Linked DNA regions of Homo sapiens: regions 2 and 3 are each linked to region 1. The links are contacts of gene promoters, found by promoter capture Hi-C in blood cells and fetal thymus (Javierre and others, 2016). All regions are on one chromosome and are shown on one strand. Each heading gives the region's core, a stretch centred on a gene start or on the middle of the fragment in contact. The rest is flanking DNA. Distances are from core to core; before and after follow the strand shown. Region 1 holds the start of LMTK2 (lemur tyrosine kinase 2). Region 2 overlaps BAIAP2L1 (BAR/IMD domain containing adaptor protein 2 like 1). Region 3 holds the start of LOC124901705 (a long non-coding RNA gene).

Evidence for each region. Contacts are between HindIII fragments. The CHiCAGO score rates a contact against its expected background, and 5 or more counts as called.
Region 2: a fragment that was not itself captured here is called in contact with the fragment with the promoter of LMTK2 in region 1 in 1 of 17 cell types (neutrophils); the score reaches 5.6 in neutrophils.
Region 3: a fragment that was not itself captured here is called in contact with the fragment with the promoter of LMTK2 in region 1 in 1 of 17 cell types (neutrophils); the score reaches 6.1 in neutrophils.

What each region holds. Positions count from the first base shown.
Region 1 is chr7:98,104,405-98,108,609 of GRCh38, forward strand. It overlaps LMTK2 (lemur tyrosine kinase 2), which reads left to right and starts at 2,458. Exons shown (of 14, transcript NM_014916.4): 1 at 2,458-2,876. The coding sequence starts at 2,774. The HindIII fragment of the contact is 4,003 bases long and covers 1,590-4,205 here.
Region 2 is chr7:98,298,539-98,302,743 of GRCh38, forward strand. The region is part of intron 12 of BAIAP2L1 (BAR/IMD domain containing adaptor protein 2 like 1); the gene reads right to left. It also overlaps a transcript of BRI3 not described here. Among named protein-coding and RNA genes, the nearest start is that of BRI3, 19 kb to the left of the region's middle. The HindIII fragment of the contact is 2,719 bases long and covers 981-3,699 here.
Region 3 is chr7:98,269,514-98,273,718 of GRCh38, forward strand. LOC124901705 (a long non-coding RNA gene) reads right to left here and starts at 1,450. Exons shown (of 3, transcript XR_007060446.1): 1 at 1,344-1,450. The HindIII fragment of the contact is 5,981 bases long and covers 1-4,205 here.

The sequences.
Region 1 (4,205 bases), core at 1,208-3,707:
AGGAGAATCACTTGAGCATGGGAGGCAGAAGTTGCAGTGAGCCAAGATCACACCACTGTACTCCAGCCTGGGTGACAGAGCGAGACCCTGTTTCAAAAAAGAAAAAAAAAAAAGAATGGCTGTAAAACACTGAAAGATATTGCTTCTAATCTTAGGTATTGATTTCCAAATTGTGCTAAAGGCTGTTTTCTGACTTCTGGGTGAAACTAAACAAAGCCAACAGGTTTTTGTTTGTTTAATAACATCTCTAACTGGAAGTCTTCAAGTATTGAGTAAAGGCATACACGGTGAGGTGGGTGGTGGGGCAAAGGCTGCCTTTAGACATCATCTGGGGGATGTGCACTGTAACCCCTGTTCTGTGAAAGAGGAAAAGAAGTTTGTTTATTTGTTTGTTTGTTTTAACTTTTGGGCTTGCTCAAATAATAGCAAAATCTACTTTGGGATTGTGGTCCAACGTGCTGTTGGAGTGCACTTTAGTTGTAAATAACCACTACCAGGATTATCAGGTAAGGCCTTCCTTAGGCCAGCACTACAGCAGGCAGTCACGAGCCTCCTTGCAGTACACAGTGTGGGTGTCCCTGGCTTCTCTGAACTCAAAGTGAGAAGCTTCCTGATAGAAGTAGAAGTATAGGCTAGGCGCGGTGGCTCATGCCTGTAACCCCAGCACTTTGGGAGGCCGGAGTGGGCAGATCACGAGGTCAAGAGATCGAGACCATCCTGGCCAACATGGTGAAATCCTGTCTCTACTGAAAATACAAAAATTAGCCAGGTGTGGTGGCGGGCACCTGTAGTCCCAGCTACTCAGGAGGCTGAGGCAGGAGAATCGCTTGAACCCAGGAGGCAGAGGTTGCAGTGAGCTGAGATCGCACCACTGCATTCTAGCCTGGTGACAGAGACAGACTCTGTCTCAAAGAAAAAAAAAAAAGAAGTAGAAGTACAACAGGGTGATTGTGTCTCTTTCCTAGACCTTTGCCTTCCTTACCAATTCTGCATATAATCAGCAGAAAGCCGTGAACTTTTTTTTTTTTAAGACAGAGTCTCGCTGTGTCGCCCAGGCTGGAGTGCAGCGGTGTGATCTCAGCTCACCGCAACCTCCGCCTCCTGGGTTCGAGCAATTTTCCTGCCTCAGCCTCCCAAGCAGCTGGGATTACAGGCATGCGTCACCGTGTCTGGCTAATACTTTTTGTATTTTTAGTAGAGATGGGGTATGACCATGTTGGCCAGGCTGGTCTTGAACTCCTGGTCTGAAGTGATTCACCCACCTTGGCCTCCCAAAGTGCTGAGATTACAGGTGTGAGCCACCGTGCCCAGCCAAGCCATGGACTTTTAAATTCAATGTTTCTCGTTCCAGGTATTTGTCTCCTTAGATATTTATTGGCTTGCCTCAATCATCCAACAAATATTCCCTGGGCATCATCTGTGTGTCCAGTGCTGTGTTAACATCATCGACAGCTGGCATTTAGGATGGACATTTGGGGAGTTTGGAGAATTGGGGAGGTTACACTGTTGCCAGGTGGCAAAGTCTCATCTGATAAGATTGAAATCAGCTCCTCTCATGCACACACTGAACCATAGCGCCTCTCCAGAAAAGCTTAGCATTTTCCCAACCCCCATGCCTCTGACCACTATATTACTTGTGTCTGGAGAGTGCTTTCTCTATCCTCTCTGCAGGACTGTGTTCTCACCTCACCTCTTGGTGGGGAGAAGGCCACCCCTGGGAGCTGCTCTGCCCTGGTACCTGGGACCAGGGCCATGCACCATTGCTTTAGAGAACACCTGCTCCGACCCAGGTCCTGCACCAGGGATTTCCCACCAGCTGAATCAGACACAGTTGCTGTCCTCAGGGAGCTTACAGTCACGGGTCAATAGGATACTGCAGCTAGGATAGCAGTCCACACAGGGCCAGGGCGGGGCACTAAGGAGATGACAGTCATTTCTCCTAGAGAGTCATAGATGAAGTCATATGTCAGGTGAGTCTCGACAGATGAAAGGAAGAGTGTCTGCCAGGTGGACAAGAGGCAACAGCTTGAGCTCAGGAGGTGAGTCAGTGGGTGATGCCGAGAGAGGCATTCTCTTGATCAATTCAAGTGAAAAGCCCAAAGCTGTTTGATGGCTGAGAGGATGTGTAGGTCAACTTAAGGAGAAGAGCCTAAAACAGCTCTGACAAGTAAAAAAAAAAAAAAGGCAGAAGACAAGACAGGCCTATTTTTGCATGTTATAAAACACCGAGAAAAAAATATCAGGATGATTGTCATGGTCTTCTTTACATTTTCCTGTATTTTTCAATTTAAAATAATTGTTGGTGTTACCTGCTGCCCACGCACTCCTCCGTCTGCAGGGGGCGCACCGGCCGCCACCGCTCACTCCTTCAGGATGATGGGCGGGGCCTCCTGGGCCGGTGTGGACTGACGAGTGGCTGGCCGCCCTGTCCATCACGACATCCCGCCCCCGCGCTACGTCACATGACGCAGCCCATCATGGCGGCGGGAGCGCGGCTTCCCAGGCCCGCCGCTCCGCAGGGCTGCTGGCGTTGCTGCTGTTGAGAGGCGGCGGCGGCGGCGCAGGCGGGCGGGAAGGATGGTGTTTCTGCGACTGGAGCGGCAGGTGCGGACCGGGAGCCGGACCGAGGTTTGGCAGAAGCAACGTGTGCTCGGGAGCAACCGGCGCGGGTGCCACTGAGGCAGCGGAGGGAGGCAGGATCGACTGACGGGCGAACGGACGGACGGACGGAAGGCGACTCGAGGGCCGGCCCCGGAGCCGCGCCGTGGGCGAGATGCCGGGGCCGCCGGCGTTGCGGCGGAGGCTGCTGCTGCTGCTGCTGGTCCTCCTGATCGCCGGCAGTGCTGGGGCCGCGCCACTTCCGCAAACAGGTGCAGGTGAGCGGGCCCGCGGCGGGGACGGGGCTGCGGGGTCTTCGGCGTGGAGGGGAGGGGGCGGCAGGGCCGGGCCGGCCTCGGCGCCGAGGAATCGGAGGGCCTGCCGGGGGCGGGAAGCCCAGGGAGGCGAGTGATTAGGGAGATTTCTGCCGCAGGGGCGTGGGATTTGGGGGGGCGGGAGCGAGGCGACGTCGTTGGGGCTGGGGAGGGCGGCGGGCGAGGTAGCAGCCACCGACCCCTCCCGGGATAGGCTGCGGTGCCGGCCCTGGACCTGTTGCCTTAAGATCCTCAGCTTATATCGCTTCCTGGCAGTTCAGCTTCCCTTTCCAGATGTCACCTGCCTCTTGTGCTTTTTTTTCGCATCTCATAAGAACCGTTTCTTAGCCCTAATCATACTTAAATGCAAATGACTTGGCGAGCTGTGCGGAGTTTGTTTTCGCTCCTTGCAACTTATTCTGAAGTTGTAAATTGATTTTAGACGCTGTGCTTTTTATTCGGAATGTATCTCCGGGGATGAGAAGGAAACAACTATAAATATTTCTATTTTAGGAAGCCAGTGATTAGAGTAGCAGGCGTTGAATAACTATTGACAAACTGGCTTAAGGGTGATGGAAGTTTCTATTTTAGCTAACGTCAGTGTATGATTTTCTTTTCTCCCCCCCCGCCCATTTTCTCAACATCGTTTTTATTTGGGGTTTATTTTCCTAAATAAAACTTCAACCCAAGAAAACATCCCAAGTTGGGTCATTTTTCTAAAAAGGAAAAAAAAATCTAGGCTAACTTGGCGTTATTGACTGCCGCCATTACCTTTGAAATGGGGAAAGATTGAAATTTCATACATTCATAGAATGTTAGAGTTAGAAGAGACCTTAAAGAAAATTTAGACCAATTTCTTCTTTACGTAGTAGGAGATACTGGGCATGTTGGGTCAAATGACCTACCCAGGGTGACACAGCTTCGTTGTAGGCAGAGCCCCAAAGCCAGGTCTTAGATACCCCTAGTTGTATGATTTTTTTTAAGTCTTGTAACTGTTTTGGAATACTCTCGAGGTCAAGAGTTATTTTGGAATAATGTTAATTGGGTACAGAATGTGGATGTACTGTCTCCAGTAAAGACATATTTTTCAAACAAATCTACGATGAAAGCTACATGTAATTGCTTCCAGAGCTACATCAGGGTTTGTCATTGAGTGCCCTTTAGTTGAACGTTAAATGTCCTCATTGTACCGTATAATGTAGCACTAAATTTCTGTTACTGCCTTAGATCAAATACTTGTGAGGTGAATTCTGTTTTCTGATCCGATAGATAAGAAGAGTAAATGTTATCAGA
Region 2 (4,205 bases), core at 1,090-3,589, 190 kb after region 1:
GGAGGTGGAGTTTGCAGTGAGCCGAGATGGTGCCACTGCACTCCAGCCTGGGTGACAGAGCAAGACTCTGTCTCAAAACAAAACAAAAAAAACATGAGGATGCTTTCCCAGCTCTCATGGATCCCAGTGTTTGGCCTGGGATATAACACAGCTTTCCCCAACATCATCAGCTGGTTTAGGCATTTTGGTTAGGGAAAGCTAAGTTATTAATCGAGGTGGACATAAAAAGGCTGAGACACATAATTCCAGGACTGTGTCCCCAGCCCTCAAGGGTGCCAGAGGCCCCCGGGGCTTTCAGGTGGCAAAGGCTGCCATTGTTTTTGAGACAGGTCTTGCTCTGTCACCCAGGCTGCAGTGCAGTGGCACAATGACAGCTCACTGCAGCCTCGACCTCCTGGGCTCAATCGATCCTCTCACCTCAGGCTCCTGAGTAGACTACAGGTATATGCCACCATGCCTGACTTTTTAATTTTCTGTTTTTTGGTGTTTTTTTTGAGATGGAGTTTTCCTCTTGTTGCCCAGGCTGGAGTGCAGTGGCGTGATCTTGGCTCACTGCAACCTCTGCCTCCCGGGTTCAACTGATTCTCCTGCCTCAGCCTCCCGAGTAGCTGGGATTACAGGCGCCTGCCACCATGCCCAGCTAATTTTTTTTGTATTTTTAGTAGAGACAGGGTTTCACCATGTTGGCCAGGCTGGTCTCAAACTCTTGACATCAGGTGATCCACCTGCCTCGGCCTCCCAAGGTGCTGGGATTACAGGTGTGAGCCACCACGCCTGACTGGTTTTTTAGTTAATTTTCTATATAGACGAGGTCCCACTATATTGCCCAGGCTGATCTGGAACTCCTAGGCTCAAATGATCCTCCCGCCTCGGCCTCCCAAAGTGCTGGGATTACAGGTGTGAGCCACCGTGCCCGGCAGGCTGCCATCTTTTGAGCCTCAGCCATGGTACCTGCTTCTTGACCACCACGTTATGGATCAAGCTTATTTTTATATATAGAGAGAGATGGGTCCTTTCTCTGTCGCTCAGGCTGGACTTGAGTTCCTGGGCTCAAGTGATTCTACCACCTTGGCCTTCCAAGTAGCAGGGATCACAGGTGTGAGCCACCGTGCCCAGCTAGAGCAAGTTTTTAAATGGAACACTGTACTATTTTGTATGATCTATTCCTAACTGTCCAATGTGGCAACCACTAGCTGTATATGGCTACTTAAAATAAAATTTGCCGGGCGCAGTGACTCACGCCTATATTCCCAGCACTTTGGGAGGCTGAGGCGGGAGGATCACCTGAGATCAGGAGTTCGAGACCAGCCTGGCCAACATGGTGAAACCCCGTATCTACTAAAAATACAAAAATTAGCTGGGTGTGGTGGCATGCACCTGTAGTCCCAGCTACTTAGGAGGCTGAGGCGGGAGAATTGCTTGAGCCCGGGAAGTGGAGGTTGCTGTGAACCAAGATCATGCCACTGCACTCCAGCCTGGGCGACAGAGCAAGACTCCGTCTCATAAATAAATAAATAAACAAACAAACAAATGTAAACGTCTAGTTCCTTCGTTGCACCATCCGTTTTTCAAGTGCTCTGCTGCCCTGTGTGCCCTGTGGCTGCTGGACTGGGCAGGGAACATTTCCATCTGTGCTGCTCGTCTCTGACACACACATGCTTGATCCATGATCCCTGCTGGTGAGGAGGCTGTGAGGCCAGGAGGCCCAGAACACACAGCCATTCCCCCTGCTCCCTGCTCCCGCCCTTGGAGCAGCACCAATGCGTCTGTAGGCTGTTTCCCACAGCTGCGCTCCCGGAACTCCTGACTGGGATTGGTCTGGATGAAACGTGGTCACTTGTCTAACAGGAGTGCTGTCTACAGAGGCTGGATGCGGGTGACAGTTGCAGTCCCTCCCCGCAATGCTTTTGCAGTCTGCATAGGATGTTAGAATAACAGCATGCAGATGACCGCGCCATGTCTTATCAGGAAAGCGTACTGATGTGGAGGCCAAGAAGCTGCTGGCTGAGATTTCAGAACTGGGTTTCTAACCTGCCGTGGGCCTTGGACAGCGGCTGCCATTCTTCTGTGCCTCCCTTTCTCCATTTCACGAGGCCCCGCTATCCCTCTACCTCCCCAGGAGGTCCCAGCACAGGCACTGCTCAGGAAGCACCACCGTGAGGTGCGAAGGGTGTGAAGGTACGAAAGACAGGAGGGCACCACAGGCTGGCGGCACCACTCCCCTCGCAGGCCAGCCAGAAGCCAGGCAGCAGTGTGGAGGCTCATCCTGCCTCTCTGGCTGGTGCCCGACCCCAGCTCTTGAGCCCCCCAAGTCACCGCAACGCCCAGGCCTTGTGTTTTTGCCGAAGCTCGTGCCTCAGAGCCTGGCTCCGACGCTTTCCTCCTAGAAGCCTCCCCTGATGCGTCCCAGGAACCCTGGCCTCTCCCCTTGTCCTCACCCCATGCATCGAGCGCTCCCTGGACTCCACCCCTGCGTGGGTCTCATTCCTCTTTGTGTCCTGAGGGCTTGGCTCTAGGCCGCCCAGTAGAGGCCGGCTGGATGAATGCTGATGGGACGGTCTCATCTCTGTCCACAAAACCCCTCCCCCACAGCCATACCCTCACTGCCATGTGACTGTGTTGACAGAAGTCTGCTGGCCTCAGAGGTCTGCGGCCCAGGAAATCTCAGCTGCCATCAGTGATAAACATGACCTCCCTGTGGGCGTCACCTCCACCCCTGTGCTGGATGGGCCTTCTCATCGATTTCAGTGATCATGAAGTTAATCAGCAGTCAGCACTCAAACACGTGCAGAATCAATGACAACTGAAATGATTAGAATCCGCATAAGGAGGGCATTCTCATGAGGTATCTGGGGCTTTTGAATGTTCTTGGATGAAACCAGAAATGAAAGGCTGCTAAAATGAAAGCCTGAAAGCCTTCTAGCTTTTTTTTTTTGGTATATATATATATATATATTTTAAGTGGAGACGGGATTTCACCGTGTTAGCCAGGATGGTTTTGATCTCCTGACCTCGTGATCCGCCCACTTCGGACTCCCAAAGTGCTGGGATTACAGGCGTGAGCCACCGTGCCCGGCCAAGCCTTCTAGCTTTCAAGACAGAAAGGGGGAACCTGAAGATGATGGTGTGTGTGTGTGTGCACACGCGCGTCTGTGTGTGTGGTGGGGGTTAGAGGGAGGGTGGTCTTGGGGAAGTGAGCTTTGGCAGGTGCGGCCTGTGGAGGCAGCCGGGGACTGGATGACTGGGAATCTCTCCCGTGGAGGGGACAGCCTGAAGCTCGCGGGTGTGAGCTGAGAATACCAGCTCAGGTGGGAAGGGTGGTGGTGGTGTCCACATGGGCCAGCTGCGCTGGTGGAGGCTGCAGGGCACCAGGTCACCCCCTGCAGGCAGCCCCAGCTCAGCCCAACCCTCCAGGTCAGGGCCCTCGGGGACAGTGGTGTGCTTAAAGCTCTGCTGCCCGAGGAAGTGGGAAGCCGGTAAGAGGCGTGCACCGTGCGCTGGCAGTCTCCCGACACTGACAGAATGTCATGATCCAGCCAACGAAGAGGTTTAAGAATGAAGCCAGGTCACCTTTCCACTCCCCAGTGCTAAGTAAGGAGGAATCTGTCATTACTGAGTACACTGATACTTACAACCAGGCTTCTTCCATTTATCCAATTCCCTGCAGTAAGAATGGCGGCGACAGTACTTTCTTCACCAAGCTTTATCCACACGATAAATACGCTGACAATGACACGTTTTCATTTTCTAACACTGAAGACTATCCAGGGTTGGCCAAAGTGTCAGTGCTCTCACTTACAATGCCAGAGCTGTGATTTTTGGGGGCAAGATTCTTTTACCTTAAAAGGCATTATCCAACCTCAATAAAGCAGCAGGCTAGGCGAACATCAACAGCTACTAACATCACAAAAAGAGATGGACGTCCACACGTGCCTCCTCACTGGTGAAATGCTCCAGCAAAACACAACAGTCAAACAAGCAAAACAGCAACAGACTCTGAGCAGGGCCTGAGGTCTAACTACCAATTTACAGAAATACAGGAGACACGGGGGAACGCAGAAAGGACACCAACAGCAAAATCCAGATGGGGGACACCCTCCAGGACAAATGACTGGTTCTTCTACAAAGAGACTGCTAAGGACAAGAGGCAGAGGGGGGACCTGTAGCTAGAAAAGGCCTCACGAGCCCTATCCACCAATTATAAT
Region 3 (4,205 bases), core at 975-3,474, 160 kb after region 1:
TTTTTATTTTTTGTAGAGATGGGGTTTCACTGTGTTGCCCAGGCTGGTCTCAAACTCCTGGGCTCAAGCCATCCTCCCGCCTCAGCCTCCCAAAGTGCTGAGATTATAGGCATGAGCCACCAGGCATGGGCATTACAGGCATGAGCCCAGCCTGAGGTGGGGGTCTCTGAGGGGGGCTTGGTTCATGCAACTGAGGGGTCATTCCTGCCTACTCACGGATCAGGCTTTCTGCTCACCTCAACTGACCCTAAAGACACTTTCTTTTTTTTTTTTTTTTTTTTTTTGAGATGAAGCCTCGCTCTTATCCCCCAGTCTGGAGTGCAATGGCGCGATCTCGGCTCACTGCAACCTCTGCCTCCCGGGTTCAAGTGATTCTCCTGTCTCAGCCTCCCTAGTAGCTGGGATTACAGGTGCATACCATCACGCCCAGCTAATTATTTGTATTTTAAGTAGAGACAGGGTTTCACCATGTTGGCCAGGATGGTCTCGAATTCCTGACCTCAGGTGATCCGCTGGCCTCAGCCTCCTAAAGTGCTGGGATTACAGGCGTGAGCCACCACGCCTGGCCCCTGAAGACACTTTCTAGGGCCTCAGGGAAAGCCTGAAACTGGGCTGCTGGCTTGGGCATTTGTCACTTGGCAACTTGGGCATTGTCTTGTCACATTGTGTTCATGTGGCTGGTTCTCCGTTGCCAATTCTCATAAGTCAGGGTTTTTATCAAGGATTCCCTTGGCATTGGTATTAATCCAGCTTCTCCCCAAACCATCCTGGCTCTGAGGGGTGGTACCTGGCTGTGGGCGCCATGAGTCGCTGGCTAGCAGTCGGACTCCAGGCTCAGAACCTGAGAATCTTGGCGGTGGGGCAGGATTGTGAGGCCGCATTCTGTCCCCGGTGAGACCTGGCTCTGTCCAGTTCCTCCCGGGCCTCCCAACGCCCCCGATGGCTCCTTCCCCCTGGCCATCTGTCCGGTCCCTCCTTCATGTCGGTCGCTGGCCCACCGGTGACTGCTTGGCTTCTGCTGGAGTTTAAGGGGGCTTTCCGCTGCCCCGTACTGAGGCATCCCCGCATCATTCCTGGGCGTGTCCCCAAGAACAGCCATGGCCTCCACAGTGCAAGCTGAAGGTAGGAGCCCCCGGAACAGACCAGGGAGGCAGTGGAGGGTGGGCTGGGCCAGAGAGAGGATGGGGGCTACCTGCTGGGGAGAAGGGATGGGGGAGTGGAGAGGGGACCCTCCTGCCACAGTGGCATCGGGAGGCCCTGGGGGCTCCTTCCCTCTGTCTCTTCGCCCATGGCAGCCTCTCTTCTTTGGAGAACCCCTCCCCACTGCTGCCCCCCAAGCTCACATGTGCTGCAAAGCCAAGACTCTATGAAACAGCATCTCCAAGCCTCGGTGCCTTCTCCTCCACTCTGCGGCTTGAAGCAGAACCGAGTTCTGGGCACTGCTGGCAAAATAGAATAATGACGGAGAGGAGGAGACCCAGATCCTTATAGGCCCTGAGAGGGTCCCCCCAAACATCATTGCTTGGGGGTGAGTCCTGAAAGCCGCTCCCTTACTGACCAAAGGAAGTGACCTCTCCATCTCAACCTGGGAGTGGTCATTTTTCTGCTTCATCCTAACCAAAGATGATGCCTCCTGTCACCAAACTCAGAGCTCTGGTGACTGGGGACAAGTTTGCCTCAAATTCCACTTCAATTCTCTCTACCATCATAGATTATTTCAATTTTATAATGTTTATGTATTCAGGGGGTTCAAGTACAGATTTCTTTTTTCTTTTTCTTTTTTTTTTTTGAAACGGAGTCTCGCTCTGTTGCCCAAGGCTAGAGTGCAGTGGCGCGATCTCGGCTCACTGCAATCTCCGCCTCCTGGGTTCAAGCAATTCTCCTGTTTCAGTCTAACAAGTAGCTGGGATTACAGGTGTGTACCACCACACCCAGCTAGTTTTTGTATTTTTAGTATAGATGGGGTTTACCATGTTGGCCAGGCTGGTCTTGAACTCCTGACCTCAAATGATCTGCCCACCTTGGCTCCCAAAGTGAGGGAATTACAGGCATGAGCCACCGTGCCCGGCTTTTTTTTTTTTTGAGATGGAGTCTCGCTCTGCTGCCCAGGCTGGAGTGCAGTGGCGCGATCACAAATCACGGCAGCCTCAACCTCCCAGCCTTAAAACACCTCAGCACCCTGCGTAGCTGGGAACACAGGTGCACATCATCATGACTGGCTAATTTTTAAATTTTTTTTTGTAGAGACGGGGTCTTGCTGTGTTGCCCAGGCTGGTCTCAAACTCCTGGGCTCAAGCAATCCTCCTGTCTTGGCCTCCCAAAATGCTGGGATTACAGGCGTGAGACACTGCAGCCAGCCAGCCACAAGGACAGATGCCTTACATGCAGGTATTGCATAGTGCTGAAGTCTGTGCCTTCAGTGCACCTGTCACCAGAATCGTGAACATTGTACCCAACAGGTGATTTTCAGACCTCACCCCCCTCTTGCCCTCCCACCTGTTTCAGTCTCCAATGTCTATTCTGCCACTCAGTATGTCTGTGGGTACCCATCGTTTAGCTCCCACATATAAGTGAGAACATGCCATCATAAATTAAACCACAGCTAACAGATCCCATAGGGAAAGACCTTCTGTCAGTCTGGATAACTTTTTTTTTTTTTTTTTTCTGAGATGGAGTCTTATTCTGTCATCCAGGCTGGAGTACAGTTGCGCAACCTTGGCTCACTGCAACCTCCACCTCCCAGGTTTAAGCAATTCTCCTGCCTCAGCCTCCTGAGCAGCTGGGATTGCAGGTGTGCACCACCACACCCAGTTAAGATTTGTATTTTTAGTAGAGACGGGGTTTCACCATGTTGGCGAGGATGGTCTTGAACTCCTGACCTCAGGTGATCCACCCGCCTCGGCCTCCCAAAGTGATGGAATTACAGGCGTGAACCACCTCGCCTGGCCAACAATCAGGATAACTTTCATTGTCATCTGATAGAGAATAGAAAAGTCACAGAGGTGCCTCATTTTCCCTGAATGACACTTGTAATCTCCAAAACTATCGAGTGAGATCCCAAAGAGCATCAGTCATCTCCACTGGCATCTTCCCTGCCATCTAGGCACTCTCAATTTATTTTATTTTATTTATTTATTTTTTATTTATTTTATTTTATATTTTATTTTATTTTATTCATTTTATTTTATTTTACTTATGAGACGGAGTCTTGCTCTGTCGCCCAGTCTGGAGTGCAGTGGCGCAGTCTCTGCTCACTGCAAGCTCTGCCTCCCAGGTTCACGCCATTCTCCTGCCTCAGCCTCTCGAGTAGCTGGGACTACAGGCGCCCACGACCGAACCCAGCTAATTTTTTGTATTTTTAGTAGAGACGGGGTTTCACCATGTTAGCCAGGATGGTTTCGATCTCCTGACCTTGTGATTCGCCCGCCTCGGCCTCCCAAAGTGCTGGGATTACAGGCGTGAGCCACCGTGCCCGGCCTATTTTATTTTTTAAAATTTTTTAATTTGTGGAGACAGAGTCTAGCTCTATCGTCCAGGCTGGAGTGCAGTGGTGTGATCTCAGCCCACTGCAACCTCCGCCTCCCGGGTTCAAGTGATTCTCCTGCCTCAGCCTCCCAAGTAGCTGGGATTACAGGTGTCTGCCACCATGCCCAGCTAATTTTTGTATTTTTAGTAGAGACGGGGTTTCACTGTGTTGGCCAGGCTGGTCTGGAACTCCTGACCTCATGATCTGCCCACCTCGGCATCCCAAATTGCTGGGATTACAAGCATGAGCCACCGTGCCTGGCTTCAGTTTATTTTTCTTTTTTCTTTATTTTTAAAAGTAGAGATGGGGGCCAGGCTCGGTGGCTCACGCCTGTAATCCCAGCACTTTGGTAGGTCAACGCAGTTGGATTACCTGAGGTCAGGAGTTCAAGACCAGCCTGGCCAACATGGTGAAACCCCATCTCTACTAAAAATACAGAAATTAGCCAAGCGTGGTGGTGGGTGCCTGTAATCCCAGCTACTCAGGAGGCTGAGGCAGGAGAATCGCTTGAACCCAGGAGACGGAGTTCAAGGTGTAGTGAGCCGAGGTTGCACCATTGCACTCCAGCCTGGGCGACAGAGTGAGACTCCATCTCCAAAAAAAAAAAAAAAAAAGAGATGGGGTCTTGCTATGTTGCCCAGGCTGGTCTCGAACTCCTGAGCTCAAGCGATCCTCCCGC